5 separate regions of the Homo sapiens genome follow, and all the other regions are linked to region 5. The links are contacts of gene promoters, found by promoter capture Hi-C in blood cells and fetal thymus (Javierre and others, 2016). All regions are on one chromosome and are shown on one strand. Each heading gives the region's core, a stretch centred on a gene start or on the middle of the fragment in contact. The rest is flanking DNA. Distances are from core to core; before and after follow the strand shown.

The links. The method cuts DNA at HindIII sites, captures the fragments that hold promoters and counts their contacts. A CHiCAGO score of 5 or more calls a contact.
Region 1: a contact is called between a fragment that was not itself captured here and the fragment with the promoter of SLC5A11 in region 5, in 1 of 17 cell types (endothelial precursors). The highest score is 5.0, in endothelial precursors.
Region 2: a fragment that was not itself captured here is called in contact with the fragment with the promoter of SLC5A11 in region 5 in 1 of 17 cell types (endothelial precursors); the score reaches 5.0 in endothelial precursors.
Region 3: a fragment that was not itself captured here is called in contact with the fragment with the promoter of SLC5A11 in region 5 in 1 of 17 cell types (endothelial precursors); the score reaches 6.8 in endothelial precursors.
Region 4: a fragment that was not itself captured here is called in contact with the fragment with the promoter of SLC5A11 in region 5 in 1 of 17 cell types (endothelial precursors); the score reaches 5.6 in endothelial precursors.

What each region holds. Positions count from the first base shown.
Region 1 is chr16:25,107,631-25,111,474 of GRCh38, reverse strand. LCMT1-AS1 (LCMT1 antisense RNA 1) reads left to right here. Exons shown (of 3, transcript NR_120306.1): 1 at 1-79. Among named protein-coding and RNA genes, the nearest start is that of LCMT1-AS1, 2.0 kb to the left of the region's middle. RefSeq lists enhancers at 1-5, 1-310. The HindIII fragment of the contact is 896 bases long and covers 1,806-2,701 here.
Region 2 is chr16:24,560,143-24,564,560 of GRCh38, reverse strand. It overlaps RBBP6 (RB binding protein 6, ubiquitin ligase), which reads right to left. Exons shown (of 18, transcript NM_006910.5): 9 at 2,846-2,949; 10 at 2,400-2,737; 11 at 1,266-1,362; 12 at 1,060-1,138; 13 at 897-951. Among named protein-coding and RNA genes, the nearest start is that of RBBP6, 23 kb to the right of the region's middle. The HindIII fragment of the contact is 2,806 bases long and covers 724-3,529 here.
Region 3 is chr16:24,578,325-24,582,641 of GRCh38, reverse strand. No RefSeq gene overlaps it. Among named protein-coding and RNA genes, the nearest start is that of RBBP6, 41 kb to the right of the region's middle. The HindIII fragment of the contact is 420 bases long and covers 2,358-2,777 here.
Region 4 is chr16:24,542,837-24,546,884 of GRCh38, reverse strand. RBBP6 (RB binding protein 6, ubiquitin ligase) reads right to left here. Exons shown (of 18, transcript NM_006910.5): 2 at 623-722. Among named protein-coding and RNA genes, the nearest start is that of RBBP6, 5.3 kb to the right of the region's middle. The HindIII fragment of the contact is 646 bases long and covers 1,959-2,604 here.
Region 5 is chr16:24,844,548-24,848,495 of GRCh38, reverse strand. SLC5A11 (solute carrier family 5 member 11) reads right to left here and starts at 2,533. Exons shown (of 17, transcript NM_001352248.3): 1 at 2,484-2,533; 2 at 2,058-2,264. The HindIII fragment of the contact is 4,984 bases long and covers 1,927-3,948 here.

The sequences.
Region 1 (3,844 bases), core at 1,004-3,503, 260 kb before region 5:
AATTAACTCAGGGCGGAACAGCTAGCAGAATCCTCAGCGTTCGGGCAAAGGGCAGAGAATCCAGCCAGAAGCAACATGTGTAAGTTGTTACATTCAGTCCGGGCTCAGTGTCATTCAATTTTACAAAATTTTGTTGTGTGCTGACTCTGCCAGCGACTGTGCTGAGGGCTTTGCCCCCAAAATTGCCTTCGAAATGTAGTGAGGGGGGCGGGCGTAGTGGCTCACTCCTGTAATCCCACCACTGTGGGAAGCCGAGGCGGGCCGATCACCTGAGGTCAGGAGTTCGAGACCAGCCTGGCCAACATGGTGAAACACCGTTGTTACTAAAAGTACAAAAATTAGCCGGGCGTGGTGGCGGCCGCCTTAGTCCTGGCTACTCAGGAGGCTGAGGCAGGAGAATCGCTTGAACCCGGGAGGCGGAGGTTGCAGTAAGCCCATGTGGCGCCACTGCATTCCGTCCTGAGCGACAGAGCGAGACTCCGTCTCAAAAAAATAAATAAACAAATAAATAAAAGAAAGAAAGAAAAGAAATGTAGTGAGGGAAGTAGTGTGTGGAAAAGTAATACAATAGGAAGCCATGTAGCAGCGATCATAAATGAACTAGAGCTACCAGGTAGCAGCATCAATGGCTGAATCTCAGAAACACGATGTTCAGTGAAAGAAGGAAGTCTAACAACACTTTTGTAAAGTTCAAACCAAGTAAAACTAATGTTGTTTAGAGAAACGTACATATATGGTAAAATACTGTACAGAGAAGGCAAGACATGAGAAAAAAAAATAAAAAAGAATCAGGATATTGGTGATCTTTAGGGAGCCGGGAGGGTAGCACACAAGAGGGGGAGGGAGAGGCAGGGAAGGAGCACATAGACACATCCTCAGTTTCTCACGTGGGAGTGGGTTCACGTGTGTCTGTTTCATTATGAGGCATATTCAAGATGTTTTGGATTTATTTTGTACTAAATCTAGTACAAAATATATGTATAAATTCAAGATGTACTGGGGAAGTCGCCTGGTTTCTTGCTGGTGATGAAATTTTATAGCTATAATTAACTCAGGGCAGAACAACTAGCAGAATCCTCAGTGTTCGGGCGATTGGCAGAGAATCCAGCCAGAAGCAACCCTTGTAAGTTGTATATGTATAATAATGTTTAATATACATTATAAATTAAAAATGTCTTTGTATATTCCATTTTGTTATCTGTCAGTTGTTGGAAGCAGGAAACAGATATACTTTAAGAACTTTGAATTGCACTCATTTTTTTAAAAAGAAAATCAACAACAGAAACCCAGAATACACACCTTGGAGTGAGGTCAAATATCAAATGCTAGCTCAGTATTCTAATGGAGGCACAAGATCTCATTGATAGCCACAGTAGAAATGACAAGAGGGGAATGACTAAGGGTGGAGAGCTTTGCCAGGGGGAATGCTGATGGGATGAAATACACCATTTTCTTGGAGTGGTCCTTTGCCAAAAGGGTAATACAAACTATTGCACAAGCATCATCTCCCAGCTTAGCAGTGTCCACATTCCACGGGTGTTAGTGGATAGTAAGTGTTAACAGCAAGTACTATACGGTGTTAATCCCACAGGTCTGGACAGTGAGACTGGGGGTGACTGGAAGAAGGCGGAGGCAGATGGGTTTATACACTTTTGTTGTTGGATGAGCCTTTGATTCAAAATAGCTGGTGATTCAGAGGAATTTGGCCATCTTCCAGCTGACCTCCAGGGCCAGCTCATTCCATGTAAGTTCCTGGTTGAGGATCTGAAAGTTTATGACAGCGTGGAGTCTGGAGATTGCAAGCTTAGCCATCTCAGGCTAAATGATACCTTAATGCAAGAGACAATGCTGGGGTAGTCTTTGAGCCATATCCCAGCCAGAGAAAGTTCACTGCCAACTAGACTGCATCTTTTGACAAAGTCAGGAGAAGAGTTGTGGAAGTGTAAAAGCTCTTGGACATTAATATTGTGGGCCAAAAGTTAGGCATTCACCATGGAATCTCTCCCCAAAAGGCTACAATGGACAATTGTTGCTTTGGCTCTCCAGTATCTCTTTCTTCTATAAAAAATAGCTAGAGTGGGCTGGGCGCGGTGGCTCACACCTGTAATCCCAGCACTTTGGGAGTCCGAGGTGGGTGGATCACCTGAGGTCAAGAGTTTGAGATCAGCCTGGCCAACATGGTGAAACCTCGTCTCTACTAAAAATACAAAAATTAGCCAGGCATGGTGGCAGGCGCCTATAATCTCAGCTACTAGGGAGGTTGAGGCAGGAGAATCACTTGAACCCGGGAGGTGGAGGTTGCAGTGAGCTGAGATCGTGCCATTGAACTCCAGCTTAGGGGACAAGAGCAAAACTCCGTCTCAAAAAACAAACAAAAAGCTGGCATGGTGGCTCATGCCTGTAATCCCAGTACTTTGGGAGGCCGGGGCAAGTGGATCACCTGAGGTCAGAAGTTCGAGACCAGCCTGACCAACATGGTGAAACCCCATCTCTACTAAAAATAAAAATTAGCCAGGCATGATGGCGCATGCCTGTAATCCCAGCTACTCCGGAGGCTGAGGCAGGAGAATTGCCTGAACCCTGAAGGCAGGGGTTGTGGTGAGCCGAGATTGCGCTATTGTACTCCAGCCTGGGCAACAAGAGCGAAACTGTCTCCAAAAAAAAAAAAAAAAAGCTACAGCTTCTTATGGAAAACTAAGCTTCTCTCCTGGCCAGGCGTGGTGGCTCACACCTGTAATCCCAGTCACCGAGGCGGGATTTGGGAGGCCGAGGCGGGTGGATCATGAGGTCAGGAGTTCAAGACCAGCCTGGCCAACATGGTGAAACTCCATCTCTACTAAAAACACAAAAAATGGCTGGGCATGGTGGTGCGCGCCTGTAGTCCCAGCTACTCAGGAGGCTGAGGCAGAAGAATCGCTTAAACCCAGGAGGCAGAGGTTGCAGTGAGCCGAGATCGTGCCACTGCACTCCAACCTAGGCAACAAGAGCGAAAGTCTGTCTCGAAAAAAAGAAAAAGAAAAAGAAAAAAAAGCAAGGCTCCTTGCCTGACTCTAGGGGTGGAAACTTGCCAAGGTCTGGCCAATTGGCACCCAAAATCACCTTGTCATGCTTCAGAGGGTGGTGGGGATTGGGGGAAGGGCTAACCAGGTTGTTCCAATCAGAATGAATCCCAGGAGTTGAATGGAAGTTGCTCAGTTTATTAGCAGAGCTCTCTTTTTTGCCACACTTGAACTTGGTAGGTGCCATCAGGTGTGGCCTGTGTGTCCGCCACGTGGTCTCTGAGGCTCCCACCTGGGGGCAGCAGCAACACAACATCCTAACCAGTGGGTGCTTGAGTTCTACTCACTGATGTTCAGATTAGAACTCTTTGGTCACTGCGTCTAGCCTTGTGACCATCACTAGCTGCTTGGGACAGCCATAGAGACACTGTTAGGAAAGTGTGCCCCCAGCACAGTCATGGGAACAATCCTTTATGTTGTTTGTGGCAAGGAAGGAGACCATCACCCATCACCCCAGGAAGATTTAGGAATGGCTCCCTGCCTGTGTCCTAACAGTAATTGTTCTAGCAAGGGTAGTGATGTTTCCTGTGGCACTGTTGCGCTGCTGCTGCTCTCTGTTCTTCTGACCCCTAAGAAATGCACATCCCTGGCAGTCAGTGGCCTAGTCACTGATGATGAAAAAAATAAAATGGACAGGGAATGGCATTTGTTGTTCAACTTCTCTCTCGATGGAAAACCCCAAACTGACAACCCTGGGCTTTGCTTCGCAGTGTTGCTTGCATATTTGGTCAAGGGGTTCAATGGCCCCAGCTGGACCCTAAACAAAATGAACTTACCAGGAGAGG
Region 2 (4,418 bases), core at 877-3,376, 280 kb after region 5:
TTATGTAATATTATATTTTAATTAGCACTCTATAAATTACTCTGTGAACTTATTGTTATATACAAGGAAAAGAGCCCTTTTGTCTGCTGGGCACAATGAAGTCATTTTACATGTTAAGGTAGGTAGTGTCATTCCAAATCCAAACGAGGAAATGGATGTTAGGGAGTAAAACCACAAGACCACTGTCATGCAGCTAGGAAATGAAGGAGATGGGATTCAAACCCAAGTCTACCTGTTTCTAAATCCTATGTTCCTTCTACTGATACATCCTGCTAGTAACTCATACTTTTAAGAATATATCAATTTTCAATCGGATTATATAAACAGAAATAATTATATAACTAAAAATACATTAAGTAAGTCTGCTGATTTTTAATGCCATAAAATATCCCACAGAGAAAATCAAAGTTCTTTGTATTTTAGGGTGGCAAGAACAACTCGATTTCAGACAAAAAATTTTTGTTTGGTAGACGTTAATCTTATTATGTATTTATGTACTCAAATCAAACTTTGATCATCCAAATTAAGGGTAGAAAAAGTTAAACCTACTAGGAAAATAACTGCCACCATATTTAAAATAACTTTTCAAGTAATTCTTATCTATTCATTAAACTGAAGTCCTGTCAAGATCCCCATTTGTTGGATATGAAAGTAGAAAAAAACTTTTAAAATTTTGTATTTTAGAAAAGATTTGCTCATTTAAAAAAAACCCTCATATAAGCTTGAATTTTGACATTTTACATAAAAAATGTTAATCTGGCACATGAAAGTTTACAATAAAGAGCAGCGACCCGCTGCCTAGTTTGGACCTTCCATTATCTAGTTTGCCTAGTTTGGACCTTCCATTATCTAGTTTGCAGGCAATCATCTGAAGATTATTGTAAACATCTACTCACTGTTCCCAGCCTGGTCGACCACCACCTGGACGAGCAGTATTTATTCTTACTGGACCTAGAAACAAAAAATAAAAGCAGTAGGTAAATACAAAATTGCACATTAAATCAAGCTAAAATTATTTTTTAAAGGGAAAAAGGTCTAAACCAAAGTGATCTTACTCACCAGTTGTGGGGATCAACTGTCCATGCAATAATGACTGTCCAAGCAAAGATGGGGTTCCAAGAACAGGCACCTGGTAACCCTTTAGAAACAACCACAAATAAACAGAAATAGTTAAAAAAAAAAAAAAAAAAGAGGTAAGAACAAAGCCAGAAAAACAAAACCCTGCTGTAAAAAAAATCCCAAATTAAAGCACCAGTAAAATTTACCTTCTCTTCCATAAGAGCGGTAATTGCAATTGAGGAGGTTCCCTTTGAGTGCTCTGATGCAAGAGCTGCAGCTGGCAATATTTTATTATCAGAATCCCTTTAAAAAACATAAATTATAATACATTAAAAATTATCAGAAATGGACAATTAAGAGTAAAAAAGTTTGCTGCTGTTTACCCATCACCTGCAGTTAAGATGAGTTAAGTCAAAGATGATGAATACTTCTGAGGAAAGTGAGAGAAGGCTGAAACTTTGAAGAGTTCTCTATATGTAGTAAGTGGAAAAGTAAAATGAAGGACCTCCTTAAGAAGATACTACAGTTATGACAGAAATCAGTTGCAAGAATAGTAAAACTTAAAATCAAAGTCTGGCCTATGAAGACAAAAATCCCCCTAGGATTAAGAGTTAAGTTTTAGCTCTAGTTCTACCACTAAACTGAAAGGATAATCTTGGGTCAGCCATAGAACTCTCTGGGCCTATTTCCACTATCAACCAAATAAATTCCACCAGATCAGTGGAATTTCTTAAATGTAAATGTAAAGGTCTCATCCTAAAGATTTTGCTTCAGTGTGTCTGAAATGGGCCTCTTACACCTTTTTTTTTTTTTTTTAAAGAATTTATGAGACATTAAACTACATGGACAAAAGTCTCATTTCTGAAGTGGTAGGCTGTGAGTTTTCACTATTCTCCTACATAATAATTATGCTCCAAAACAATCACTATTCCTGACTTCTCTACTTACCTGTGTTTTTACCCCCTCTTCTCTACCTATCTAAACTGTTCTTAGTTCTACTCAAAACTACTCCTATCCAAAACTATCATTATGATCACAAGTGAATTCTCCCACCTCTGTTAAGTTCAGAGCTGTTATGGTATATGGAACATTCAACGTTTAATAGGGGCTGGTTGGCAACCTGTGTAGTATTTGACCTCAGGATGCTTAATCCTCATTTGCCAAATCAATCACGTTTGTTTTCCTCTTCCCCCAATAAGACTAAGTCACTTCTTACAAGTCATCCCACATTACTGAGCACAGTGGTCCACTAAGAAAGCTGTTAAAAGTGATAACCAACAACAAAACACTACATCATTGACCTCATTTGGTTTCTAACAGTGAAAAACACACAGGCTTACCGAAAAGGTCCATCTGATTTTTCTGAATGAACTGATATGGATACTGTTGCAGTTATATCAGGTACAGGAGCTGGAGCAGAAGACGGATTTCCAGACACAGGAGGGGCCAAGGAAGACTGATTAGAAGTTAATGAAGATATAGACGGAGCTGGGTGAGTTGATGAAGATGTCACTGGAATCATAAGAGGATCTTGTTGTCTTGATATCGGAGATCTCATCAGAGGTTGTAGGTTCCTCTGAATCAGTGGTCTCGGAGGTGGTATTGGGGGTGGTGGAGGAGGTAACTGTTTTCGTAGTCTTTTTGTATAGCCAGTTTCATTTTTGAAGTTATTTACAGCCTACAGATACCAAGCATAATAATGCAGAAAAATGTTATGCAGTATTCACTGAAGTACAGTTAAATCAGTTAAAAAGAATTTTTTCATAAAATGGATACAGACAGTTACCTGTCGTAAAAATTTATTGGCAATTAAAGCATCAGGAGAAACATCATTTTGATGACACGTCGGACATGTGTGCTCATCTGATTCCAGGAGTGCTGTTCTTATACCTATGTATAAGATTTCAAATATTAATAAAAGCATAGTAGGAACTCAAAGTGTTTACGAAATGAATTAAAAGGATGGTCCACATTTGTTCAGTTACATTACTGTTTTCCAAGCATGTCGTGCTAATCATTTCTTAGATTAAGAAACTTAAGTAAAATCTCTCATCTTACAGTACTCCTCTGCTCTTTTCTATATGACCTATGCTACGCTAAAAAGAAGTCACAGCTGGGTGTGCTGGCATGTGCCTGTAATCCCCACTCCTGGGGAGGCTGGGACAGGAGAATCACTTGAGCCTAGAAGTTCAAGGCTAGCCTGGGGCAAAATAGCAAGGATCCCCCACCCCATCTTTTTTTTTTTTTAAACAAATGTCTGAATTGAGAGCAAAAGCACTCTTTCTCAAAGACTATTCTTTGTTTAGCTAGTAACTGGAATATTGTAGAAAACAAAAGAGAAATATAAGATAGTCTAGAAAGACAAAAATTTTACATGGCTAACTTGGGGTTTTTATTCAGGCAAGGAAATGAGAGACCTACAGCACAGTACGTGGGAGCAACACTAAATTACAGATACGAAGATTAAGCTTCAATGTAGTAAAACTCCAGTAATACCAAGTGGTATGTTAAATCTAAGATATAATCTGAAACAAGTCTTTAGCAACCTCTTCTTGACCTTGGTCTTCACTGAAGAGGTCAAAAAATAAAGATTTACAGGTATCCAAAGGGGATGGGTTCCAGAACCCTCTGAAGATAACGTCTGTAGATGCTCAAGTCACTCAACTGCCCCAAAGGCATAGTATTTGCATATAATACTATGTACATCCTCCAGTATACTTTAAATAATCTCTAGATTGCTTGTAATACCTGCTGCAATATAAATGCTATGTAAATAGTTGTTATACTCTTATTTTAAAATCTGTATTAGTCTTTACTATTATTTTTTACTGTTTTCTTGCCCCCAAATATTTATGATCTGTGGTTTTGAATCTGCAGATGCAGAACCATGTGTATGAGGACTGTATATTTCAAAACTACCTTTAAAAATGAAAAAGGCCAGAGCAGGCTTGAGCAAATTTTCAGGTAACACTGATTTCTTCTGTGTAAGAAGGCACAAACTTAGGATAAGTGGCAGGAAACAACTAAGTGCTAATATAAGTGATTTAAAAAGTCACAACTGCATGGTAAATGCTGGGTAATAAATATGTCTACAGATGTCGGGCGCGGTGGCTCACGCCTGTAATCCCAGCACTTGGGGAGGCCGAGGTGGGCGGATCACGAGGTCAGGAGATCGAGACCATCCTGGCTAACACAGTGAAACCCCGTCTCTACTAAAAATACAAAACATTAGCCGGGTGTGGTGGCGGGCACCTGCAGTCCCAGCTACTTGGGAGGCTGAGGCAGAATTGTGTGAAGCCAGAAGGCAGAGGATGCAGTGAGCCGAGATTACACCACTGCACTCCAGCCTGGGAGACAGT
Region 3 (4,317 bases), core at 1,318-3,817, 270 kb after region 5:
GATGGATTCTCTCATTCTTGTCACCCAGGCTGGAGTGCAGTGGTGTGATCTCTGCTCACTGCAACCTCCACCTCGCAGGTTCAAGCAATTCTCCAGCCTCAGCCTCCTGAGTAGCTGGGATTACAAGGTGCGTGCCACCACGTCTGGCTAATTTTTGTATTATTGGTAGAGACAGGGTTCCACCATGCTGGCCAGGCTGGTCTCAAACTCCTGACCTCAATTGATCCTCCCACCTCGGCCTCCCAAAGTGCTGGGATTATAGGCATGAGCCACTGGGCCTGGCCCCAATTTTTATTAGATAGGTAGAAAGAAGGTTCTGGAGGGGAATATCCCAAGAAAAAGGGTAAAACTGATGAACACTTATTTGAATATCCTGGGAGGAGGTTTGTTTCCAGTGAGCCATAGAAAATCAAACTTTTGAAACGGGAGTTGATATTAATTCCAGGAAAAACAACATTTTACATGAAAGCAATCCTACTATACCAAGTGACTCAATGTGGAACTGTTTATATAGATATATAATAATGTATACCACCATTTTTATTTAATCCAAATGGTAAAACTTTTATTGAGAGGGTGGGAGAGGGTAGAGGTGTATGTGTGTGGGTGTTGCTAAAGTCAATTGTGGCTCATACTTGAGACTGAAAAATCAAGTAATAGGAGGAGTGTGTTATTTACATATAACATTCTTCTTTTCTTTTTTAAAGAAAGAACTAGCAGAGTTGAAATGGCCTGTAAAGAATTAGTCAGCATATAATTAATTAGAGTAGGAGAATGAAGTTTTTGTTGTAAGTCTTTTTTTTTTTTTTTTTTTTTGAGATGGAGTTTCGCTCTTGTTGCTCAGGCTGGAGTGCAATGGTGTGATCTTGGCTCACTGCAACCTCCGCCTCCCGGGTTCAAGTGATTCTCCTGCCTCAGCCTCCTGAGTAGCTGGGATTACAGGCGTGCACCACCATGCTCGGCTAATTTTTTGTATTTTTAGTAGAGACGGGGTTTCACCATGGCCAGGCTGGTCTTGAACTTCTGACCTCAGATGATCTGCCCACCGCGACTTCCAGAGTGCTGGGATTACAGGCGTGAGCCATCACACCCGGCCTGTTGTAAGTCCTGAAGAACTTTATGACTTTTTAAACAATGTACAACTTTGTGAGAAAAATTAAATTCTTAAAGCCTGCAAAATTGAGAATGTATTATGATCTGGGCAAATTTAATGAAAATGCTAACTACCACAGACATATCCTGGTAGAAAAGTCAATATCGGTGGGGGGAGGGGGAAGATGGAGAATCACACTGGTTTTGGACTTAAAGGTAACTCTAAATGCCTGAAGGCACCAGAATTTTGTTTTGTTGGCATTTCTGTTTTATTGTTAGTGGCTTTTTTTTTTTTTTTGACAGGGTCGCACTATGTCACCCAAGCTGGAGTGCAGTGGCTCACCGCAATCTCCAGCTCCGGGGTTGGAGTGATTCTCAGCCTCCCTAGTAGCTGAGATTACAGGTGTGCACCACCATGCCCATCTAATTTTTTTTTTTTTTTTTTTTTTGTATTTTTAGTAGAGATGGGGTTTCACCATGTTGGCCAGGCTCGTCTTGAACTCCTGGCCTCAAGTGATCCACCCGCCTCAGCCTCTCAAAGTGCTAGGATTACAGGCATGAGCCACCGCACCCGGCTGCTAGTGGCATTTAAAATTTTCAGATGTTTATTTGTGTAATAATTGAGATTGTAATTTTAAAAAATTGCAGAGGGGGAAACAGTTGCTAGTTTAAAGAACAAGCAGCTTCTTCTGCCCTCTAATGGCATAATTCATCCTTGGTTCAGAAAAATAATGGCTAATTTCAGTTTCAGAGATGAAGAAACTATGAAGTAGAACAGAAAAGAAGGGACGATGGTGTGCACAGGAAGATGAGAGGATGTGATGTGTTCTCAGAAAATAGGCAGAAATGTCACAAAATGTATAAAGATTGAGACTGTACCATAATGAGAAGCTCTGAAGAGAAAAATCAGCACAAGAGACATCAGAAAATTAAAAAGGAGCAAATCAGGATAAACCAGATCTCATATAACCATTATCAAAAATATCGGGGAAGCTCCTGGGCTTCCAGTTGACTGGCCAGTTGAAATAATAAACTCTTAACCTATCAAAAAATGGTCATCCTAGAAGATGGGAAGAATATAATCCAGGAATGTAATATGATAGGTCAAAACACACAATTATCAACATTTTATTTTGGTACCAAAATTTATACAAAAGAATATTTTAAATCCTAAATATATAAAATTTTGGATAAACAATATTTAGTCTAGAATTTTAAGATGTGATTTTTTTTTCTCCAAGTGGTTAACCAGTTCACTCAAAGCTTATTGAAAAACCTATCCTTTTTCACATTTACTTATGCTCAAACTGTTGTGTATTATATTTGGGCCAATTTATGGTGTTGTATTCAATTCCACTGACTTGTCTGCCTCTTCTGGCACCAGTGCCATAATGTTTTGAAAATTGCATATTTTCCCCCTTCAGCCCCCATAATAGCCAGGGGAATGAGGGCTGCGTGATCCGGCCTCCTTCCTGGCAACAAGACCAGCTATAACAAATCTGTCTCTGGACAGAATCTTCTTCCATCCCCGTCAACATGGTAGCCTACGCTTCAGGTTTCCTTTGTGCAATTTTCATCATATTCAAAGTGACTTCAAAGGAAATTAACTTCATTTGCTCCATGGCCCATCCCTGTTTCTTCAGATGATGGTGTGTTCCTAATACCCAAGATCTTCTATTCAAGCTTTCCAAGAGGCCATCTGCCTTCTCAAGGAGAGAACTGTCAGTTGTCTTTATTTCGCCTTCTCTCCATTAACAACAAAAAACTTTTAAGATGTGGTGCTATGGCAGAAATGCCATATTTTTAGCTATGTCTGCCCCTTCTGTCTTTTCCTGAGTTTCTAGCACTAATACAGTTTTCCCTGGCTTCATTTTTCATATTTGTGTTTATTGGTTTTAGTTTTTAGGATACAAAAAGAAATCAGTCTACCAGCTTTATATATCATTAAGCTAGGTAAAAACATATTTTAACAATTATCAAAATTTTGTTAATGGGCCAGGTGTGGTGGCTTATCCCTGTAACCCCAGCACTTTGGGAGGCCCAGGCAGGAGGATTTCTTGAGGCCAAGAGTTTGAGACCAGCCTGGGCAACACAGCAAGACCTATCTCTACAAAAAAAAAAAAAAATTATTTTTAATTAGCCAGGTGTGGTGGCACACACCTGTAGTTTCAGCTACTCATAAGGCTGAGGTGGGAAGATTGCTTGAGTCCAGGAGGTTGGGGAAGCAGTGAGCTATGATTGTGCCACTGCACTCCAGCCTGGGCAACAGAGAGAGAGAGAGACTCTGTTTCTAAACAAAAAAAAAAAACAACCCCCCCAACCCCGCCAAAAATTATTAAGGTTCCAGTTGTTTCTACCAAAGAAGATTTTAAATTCTAAATGTATGTCCATTCTCATATGAAAATCTTACCACAGAGACTTTAAAAATAGAAACCTAAATTGAAAACATTCACACTGGCCAAACCAACTTCATAGTAAATTACAAAAGAGCCACATTTCAAGCAAAGTGGAAAAGCAAGATTCACGCTGGTGTTGGCTTTAATATGAGATCACTGTTCACCCTTCATTAAATTTAATAAAAGGTAAAGTGCATAAAGGAATTAGCAATAGTTATTTTTAAAAAGTCCTTTTAACATGATCCTAAAAATAATCTCAAAGGCTTTTATCAAAGAGGAGCCTTGATAAGCTGTTTATACTTTAGATCCATACTGAAAGAATTTGCCTGAAGTCTTTGAATGTTCCTATTAATCCTATTTCTTTCAGATCCGTATGCTGAAGTTATTCACATACAGCAGCTTCATGGTACACTTTCTCCAGGATTTAAGTAGGTGACCTTAAGTCTATTCTTTCCTGACCATTCCAATTCTCAAAATTAAAAATGTTTGTGGAAAAATTTAATGTCAAAGGATGTGTTTATGACATAAAGAAAATGCAGGGTACACGCTCGCTCTCTATATTTTATATATACACGCATATACATACGTATATATATACATACTATATATAGGAGGCTTTTTTCTAGTTAAAAATAAGACAACTGCTGAAGCTAAAGTAAATGAGCAGTGGTATAAAAACTCTCAGAAAGGACATGTTTCAAATCAGAGGTTTTGTTCTATGTCTAGCTTTATACAGTAAGAACAGCATTCATTAAAGGCGCTGAAAGACAGGGAAAGTGGACAAGTACACGGAGACACTTGCGCAGACTGGGATGAATAAACTATTACG
Region 4 (4,048 bases), core at 1,032-3,531, 300 kb after region 5:
ACTATTTAATTCTTACAACCCTCTAGAGTTAAGTACTCACGTCCCTATTTTATTTTTGAGGAATCTGAGGCACAGAGACTTACCCAAGGTCCAAAGTCACACAACTGGTATGAAGCAGTAAATGGAGTCAAATCTAAGCCTGATTTCAGTGCCCATGATTATAAATCCTATATACTTTATGCCTCTCAGCCAAAGCCCCTTATTGATAAAGAGTAAATGTTAGCATTACTGAATACTCTTGATGCTGTCAAAATATTTAGGACCGATGTCTACAACACCAAATTTTTGTAGTGAAGAAAACTGAAGGAACCCCCACAAAAAAAAGTAGTCAAAGAAAGGCACAGAAATAATGTGAATATCACTTTCTTGTATCTGTAAATACTGGCCATATGGAGAAAAATTTTTCCTAATAATGGCCCTCTCACAACAGGCTAAGTCAATTTAACTGGGGGAGGAAATCAAAAACAAACGAACAAAGAAACCTACTATCCTCACAGTCTTGAGAAGATGTATTCATTAAGGTTAAAGTAATGAGTTCAGTTCTAAAATACAGTTTTTTCTCACAAAATTAAAAAAACTAAAAAAAGTCTATTTTGAGAAATACATGAGATTTGATACTTACATAACATATGTCTTGCTTGTAGATTTAACACCTCCAATAGGAATTCTTCTAACAATTACAGAAGAATTCTTAGGAATCAGAGCATTATCATCAGTATATTCTGTAAATAAAAAGACAGAATTGAATTTCCATTTGGGGATTTGAGTGCGTAACCAAGAATTAGAAAACTTCAAATATAAATTTCATGGGAAATGACTTTAAATATAATAACTACAAGTTCCTTGCAACTAGATTACTGATATTGTCAGAACAAACATCCAAAGCCCTAAGAGGGCTTCTTTTCAAAGGACAACCAATATCATCAGCAGGTTCTTGGCTCTAGCACTTCTACTTTTGTGGAACTCCAAATCTCAGTAACACCGTCATTCTTTAGTTTAGTCTGAAATGCTGAACATGTGAATGGTGAAAAAGCCGTTATTCGGAATGAAGATATTCTGTCTCTCCTAGTCCCTAAACGTTAGTTGAGTATTACAATCCCTGCATTCACAGAAATTATTACTGAGGAAGATAGACTAAAAATTAAATTATGACGTTATGAATAAAGAGAAAATGGTTTTCTAATAAGGAATGAATAGTGGAATACAACTTCAGATAGAATGTTGATTCCAAGAAAGCCCCTTGGAGGAACTTCTACTGGATACTTAAAGACTGAGAACCCAGCCAGATACAGGAAAAAAACTGGTTGAGGACTATTTCAGGCAAAGGATAAAAAAAGCATGTAGAAAAATGATACGAAACGGCTTGAAGAGCCTAAGAAAATAAAAGAAAAGAATGACAGAAAGGTATAGACCATACACTGATTTATATTTTGTTTTGAAGTGCAACAGGAAGACACTGAAGGATTTTAAGCAAAGTGATTATTTGCTTTTTGTTAAAGAAAAAAAGACTACTGGCCAGGCGCGGTGGTTCACGCCTGTAATACCAGCATTTTGGGAGGCTGAGGGGGGCGGATCACGAGGTCAGGAGATTAAGACCATCCTGGCTAACACGGTGAAACCCCATCTCTACTAAAAATACAAAAAAATTAGGAAGGTTTGGTGGTGGGCGCCTGTAGTCCCAGCTACTCAGGAGGCTGAGGCAGGAGAATGGCATGAACCTGGGAGGCTGCAGTGAGCCGAGATCGCGCCACTGCACTCCAGCCTGGTGACAGAGCAAGACTCTGTCTCAAAAAAAGACTACTGTGGCACCAATGTGGAGCACAAACTGTAGGAGAACAAGAGTAGAAACCAGGGGACTAATAACCAGGCTGCTAAAAAATCCAGGTAGAGATAATGACGACCTGTGTTATGATGTGAGAAATAAAGACAGAATGTTTGCAGGTAGGATTGACAAAGCTTGCTGATGGACCGAATATGGGGGAGATGAAGGAAATGAAGAAGAAAGAGGAATCAGGCCAGAGGAATCCCTGGGTTCCTGGCTTCAGTCATCGGATAAACAGTGATGTCACCTTCTGGGAAAACCAAGAGGGAGAAGAATGGATCCTATTTTTACACTCCTTGGGCTATTTGCAATACTTGTATAAGAATGAAATTAAGAAAATGGACCTTAACTATGGTAAAAAGATTTGCTACAGAAAGAATCTGTAAAATTACCAAAAAGAAAAATTACCTAGAGATGCAAAAATGTATCCATCTCCTTTAATCACACAACCAGGCCTTTTTATTGTCATTAAGTTTACTTGCTTCACTTAAAGTTACTCTGCACAAAGTGACTATCTCTGTTCTTCCGATTATTACGCTTACCACATATGTAGGCATATTCGGCTTTTAATGTATATTAATTATTTTTAGTCATAATGCTAATAGTATTGTTAGAAATGAAATTGTTCAGGCAAGGGTTATTTTCTATATACTTCAAGTAGAAGGCACTATCTCACAGGCATTCAATTAGAGGTAGGCAATTTCCTAGATTTAGGCATGCCAATGTAGGACTATAATCTTTATCTTGGACAGTTCATGATAGCCCCAAATTCCGAGGAAGCTTTGAGTCAGAAAAACTGAGAGCATGGGGTGACTAGATTTTTTTAAAAGTTAATTCTAGAAATAAAACTTTGTGTCAAACACCTGACAGGAAGTTTCTGAATATGTAACAACTCAATGCACTCACAAGAGCTTTCCAAGACAGCTTATTAATTTGATTAGCACCGTACTGTGTCAAACTAAAAGGTGCCTCAATGCCCTTCAAAACAGATGTTCTAACTGACTTTTTAAATACCTGAATTACAATGATTTCTTACCCCTCAAAGTATCTTTCTAGGGGTAATAAAGACACTTTGGGGGTATTTCATTTAAAATACCTCCTTAACAAGTAGTCTGTTGGCTTCAAAAGACCCTTTCTGCTTGCCAGTTTTTTTGACCCCAGACATGAAAGGCATGGATGAAATGAAAAACAGAATGAATCCGAGAAATGGAGAGTAAGAAAGGTGACAAGGGTCATTTATAAACACTTCATATTCAGCTTCCAAACCTCTCACACTTTAATTTCAGAACGAAGGATGTTTTGTTTTTTAGGGGTCGGTGTGCAGAAAAGTTTCTCATATATAACAAAGATTACTTGATATTCATTTTGAAATACAGTCTAGAAACAAGCAGGATTCTTGTCTAAAATCCATGGAATTCTGACCCAAGCGTTTCAGTCTTATCAAGATTTAAGGGTCCTATGCCAGGCACAGTGGCTCAAGCCTATAATCCCAGCACTTTGGGATGGCCTTGGGAGGCCAAGGCAGGAGAACACTTGGGCTCAGGAGACCAGCCTGGGCAACATGGCAAAATCCCCATCTCTACCAAAATAAAATAAAAAAAAATTACAATAAATTAGCCAGGCATGGTGGTGTGTGGCTGTAGTCCAGCTACTTGGGAGGCTGAGGTGGGAGGATCACCTGGGCCTGGTAGGTTGAAGCTGCAATGAGCCAAAATTGTGCCATTATACTCTAGCCTGTGAGGATGTGTCTCCAAAAAAAAAAAAAAAAAAGATTTAAGGGACCTAAACATGCACATAATTCCAAAACTGTAAGGAAATGTTTTACAGAAACATGGTAGATTAGGGATTTTAAAATTATAAGAATGAAATTAAGAAACTGGACCTTAACTGTGATAAAAAGATTACCATAGTTTTCTTTAGTAAATATGTTGAATATCGGTGCTAAAACCAAATGGCATTCTACTCAACTGCCTTGTGACATTGGATACTATTTCCCATAAAACTAGTTAAGTAGCTACCATCAATATCTCTTTCTCTCTTAATTTGAGGACTGCATAAAATACACATTTTCTCCCTCAAAGCTCCCTTTTCTTAACAAACCGAACATCAAAGCTTTCTCCAATAAAGGGCAGTTCACATAAATATAAAAAAGAAAATGTGCTGGGCAAAAACACATTCCTGGCTTTCTGGGTTTGAATTACGTATCATTTATTTCCTGGGCTAGGA
Region 5 (3,948 bases), core at 1,284-3,783:
TGAGCCACCATGCCTGGCCTCCAGCTAACTTCTTATTTTGTAATTTTTTTGTAGAGACGGGGTCTTGCTATGTTGCCCAGACGGGTCTCAAACTCCAGGCCTCAAGCAATCCTCCCAACTTGGCCTCCCAAAGCACTGAGGTTGCAGGCATGAGCCACCTCACCCAGCCTTGCTTCCTTTTAATCCGCCCCTCACACGGAAGCCAGAGAAATCTTTAAGTATGAGTCAGATCAGATCATTTTCCTGCTCAAAACATCTCCATGCTGCTGGGGTGCTTTGTTGTGCTTCCAACCCCACCACATACTAGCATTCATTTTATTCCTGGAACACGATTTCTGGCCTCAGGGTCTTTGCCATTCTGTTCCCTCTGCCTGGGATGCTCTTCCCTGCACTCTTTGCTGGACAAGCTCCTACTCATCCTTTAGATGTCAGCCTGCTGTATATCCCCAAAGGAGCCCCCTCTTGGCCTCAATATAAATTGGGTCCCCAAGCTTTTTGCTTTCATGGCAAACACAACTTCTCATCACAGTCTAATCAAGTGTAACACTTGATGTGTGTGATTACCCCTTGTCTGCACTGCACAGCAAGCCCCATAAAGAAAGGTCCATGTCTCTGTCACTCTCATTGTGTCCCCAAAACAGGCATGCAATAAATGTTGGTACAACAAATAAATGTGGGATTTTTAGAGCCTTTGCTATAGATCCTTTGCACGCTGTGACCGCCCAAAAAAGGGACAGCATTTTTCCAAGTCCTATCTGCAGGATGCCCAATGGGCTAGGACACTTCTGTCAACTATTGCCCAGAATAATTCAGCAGAACACCATTTGAAAACCACTGATTGGTAGGGTGCAGTGGCTCATGCCTGTAATCCCAGCACTTTGCAAGGCTGAGGCGGGAGAATCGCTTGAGTTCAGGAGATTGAGACCAGCCAAGGCAACACAGGGAGACCCCATTTGTACAAAAAATAAAAATAAAAAAGTTAGCAGGGCATGCTGGTGAGCTATGATAGTACTACATTTCAGCCTGGGCAACACAGAGAGACCCTGTGAAAGAAAAGACAGAAAAGAAACGAGAGAGAGAGAGAACAGAAAACACACACAGAGAGAGAGAGGAGGCAAAGAAGGAAAGAAGGAAGGAGAAAGGGAAAGAAAGGAAGAAATAAATAATAAAAGAGAGAGAAGAAAGAAAGAAAGAAAGAAAAAAGGGAAAAGAAAGAGAAACAGAGAGGTGGGAGGGAGGGAAGGAAGGAAAGAAGGAAGGAGAAAGAAAGGGAAAGAAAGGAATAAGGAAAGAAATAAAAGAAAGAAGGAAAGAAAGAAAGAACAAAGAAAAGAAAGGAAAAGAAAGAAAAAGAAAGAAAGAGAAAAAGAAAGAAAGGAAAGAAAAAGAAAATCACTGATATTGTGGCTGAGCTCATGGCCACAGGAATTGAGTCTTGGCTTGGCCACTCACTATCTGTATTACCTTGAGCAAGTTATTTAATGACCCTTAGACTCTGTCCATGAATTAGGGGGTGCTGTACCTACCTTACAGGGTTTCTGTGTCAGTTAGATGAGATCCAGGCGTAAAGTTCTCTGCACGTGTCTGACACGTACCAGTGAAGACTTGTATTTGCCTTGTAGTTAACAGCAGCTGCAGTTGTAGTAAATACATTCCTATAGCTTTTTAATGCTTATGTGGATACATTTACCTTCGTTATCTCTGGGTAACACACCTGTGGGGTGGGTCAGCCTGAGGTTCATATTCCCATTTGACAGATAAGGAACCTGAGACTCGGTGAGGCAAAATGTTTGGCTCAATGTCCCTGACCTTGGTTAAGTGGAAGAGCTGGGACCCACGTACGGTGCTGCTGGCTGCCGGCTGCTGGCTTCATACCACCATGCCCACCCCACAAACACACTCCATTGTCCTGGTGTATGACAAGCTTTCTCTGCAGAGAGGGCTGAGCTTCCCCTGCCCCACAGGTGACAGCTGGAGTCCTTCTGCCAGCACCTGTCCCCAGACCAACTTCCCAGTTTGGAGAGTGGCTACCTGTTTGGGGGCAGGGGGTGTCTTACCTTATTCCAGATGCAGGGCTCACCTGCCCTGGGGGCTGTCAGTGGCTTCTAAGGCACTAGGAGGTGGCGGTGGTTGTAAGGAGGGAGATACCCGGGATCCTCTCTCTTTGCAGCCAAGAGCTTCCGGAGACAGCAGTGACCCTTCCTCCTATATGCCCGCTGCTGAGAGAGCCTCCAAGCGGGTCAAACTCCAAACTCCAGCCTCAGCTGCAGCGGGGATTAAAGGAAGCGTGAATGATCTCCCCAGGGCAGAAGAGAGAACGGGGCCCAGCCCAGGACCCTTGAACTCTGAGCAGGTGGGGAAGGTGACATGTCCCACGCTCTGCCCACACCGTCCTCCACCAGGGTCCTCACCTGCGTGGGGACCCATGGCATGGAGGGGTTGGGGAGACGCTGGAGCCCAAGGCACCATCCTGCTTCACTCACCCAGTCTTCCACTGTCCCGCCTCCACGCTGGGGACAGGCAGGCTTGGGACGAGCTGGAGGAAGGGGAGGGGAGGAAAAATGCTGGCGGCGGATGGAGGGGACAGAGGCAAAGTGCCAGGAGGGACGTCCAGCCACAGCCCTCACCGCAGTGGCAGCAACAGGAACAGCAACCATTGCTTGTGCAACCCCTTTCCATATACTCTTCAGACAGAGGCATGGCAAAGAACAGGTGTCTGCCTGAAGTCGAGAGTTCGAGACCAGCCTGACCAACATGGAGAAACCCCATCTCTACTAAAAATACAAAGTTAGCCGGGTATGGTGGTGCATGCCTGTGGTCCCAGCTACTCGGGAGGCTGAGGCAGGAGAATCACTTGAATCCGGGAGGCGGAGGTTGTGGTGAGCCGAGATTACACCATTGCACTCCAGCCTGGGCAACAAGAGCGAAAATCAGTCTCAAAAAAAGAAGAAGAAGAAGAAGAAGAGGTGTCTGAGGCCCTGAAAAACCGTCAGGAGTGACCGAGCCATGGCCAGGCGCCCACATCGGGCCCAGGACATCAGCGGGGCATAGCGAAGATTTCTGCCAGATGCTCAAAGCATCCAAAACTTTATTTACTTTTTATTTCTGAGACAGGATCTCACTCTGTCACCCAGGCTGGAGTGCAGTGGTGGCATCACAGCTTGCTGCAGGCTCATCCTCCTGGGCTCAAGTGATCCTCCCACCACAGCCTCCCGAGTAGCTGGGACTACAGGCGTGCACCACCACACCCAGCTAATTTTTTCATTTTTTTGGTAGAGAGAGAATCTTGCTATGTTGCCCAGGCTGGTCTCCAACTCCTGGGTTTAAGTGATCCTCCCACCTTGGCCTCCCAAAGTGCTGGGATTACAGGGGTCAAACACTGTGCCAGGCCAAATACCAAAACATTTTAAAAATAGTTACTAGTATTTGCAAACCAAGAGGCTTGAAACATAATTCTAGAATACTCACTTTTCTAGAACAACCTGAAGATCTGGCCTCACCAGGCCCCCATGGCCACAGGACAGCTGCTGACTGGGGAGGAGTCGTGGCCTCCCCATCTCACTCCTTCACTGGGCCTGCCAGGCTCTGGGGGGCCCTCAGCTGAGGCCCCTGTCCTGGCACCGAGTAGCCAGAAATAATAGCAGTGATGAACACGTGCCAGGCTCTAAGGGCACAACATGCCTTTACTCACTTGGTCTTTCCAACAACCCTCGAAGTTAGGTCCTGTTATCTCTATCTTACTGACGAGGTAACAGAGGTAGAGGAGATGAGTCATCGGCCCAGGATCACCCGGGTTGTAAGTGACACAGCAAGATTTCAGCCCAGGCCACCTGGCTCTAGAGTCCTGCAGGAGCAGTGGAGGGTGGCTTGACTGGATAAAGGGTGGCCTGGGTGAGCAAACACTGGGTGACTGACCAACACCAGTATGAATGGGGCCTTTGGGGGAGG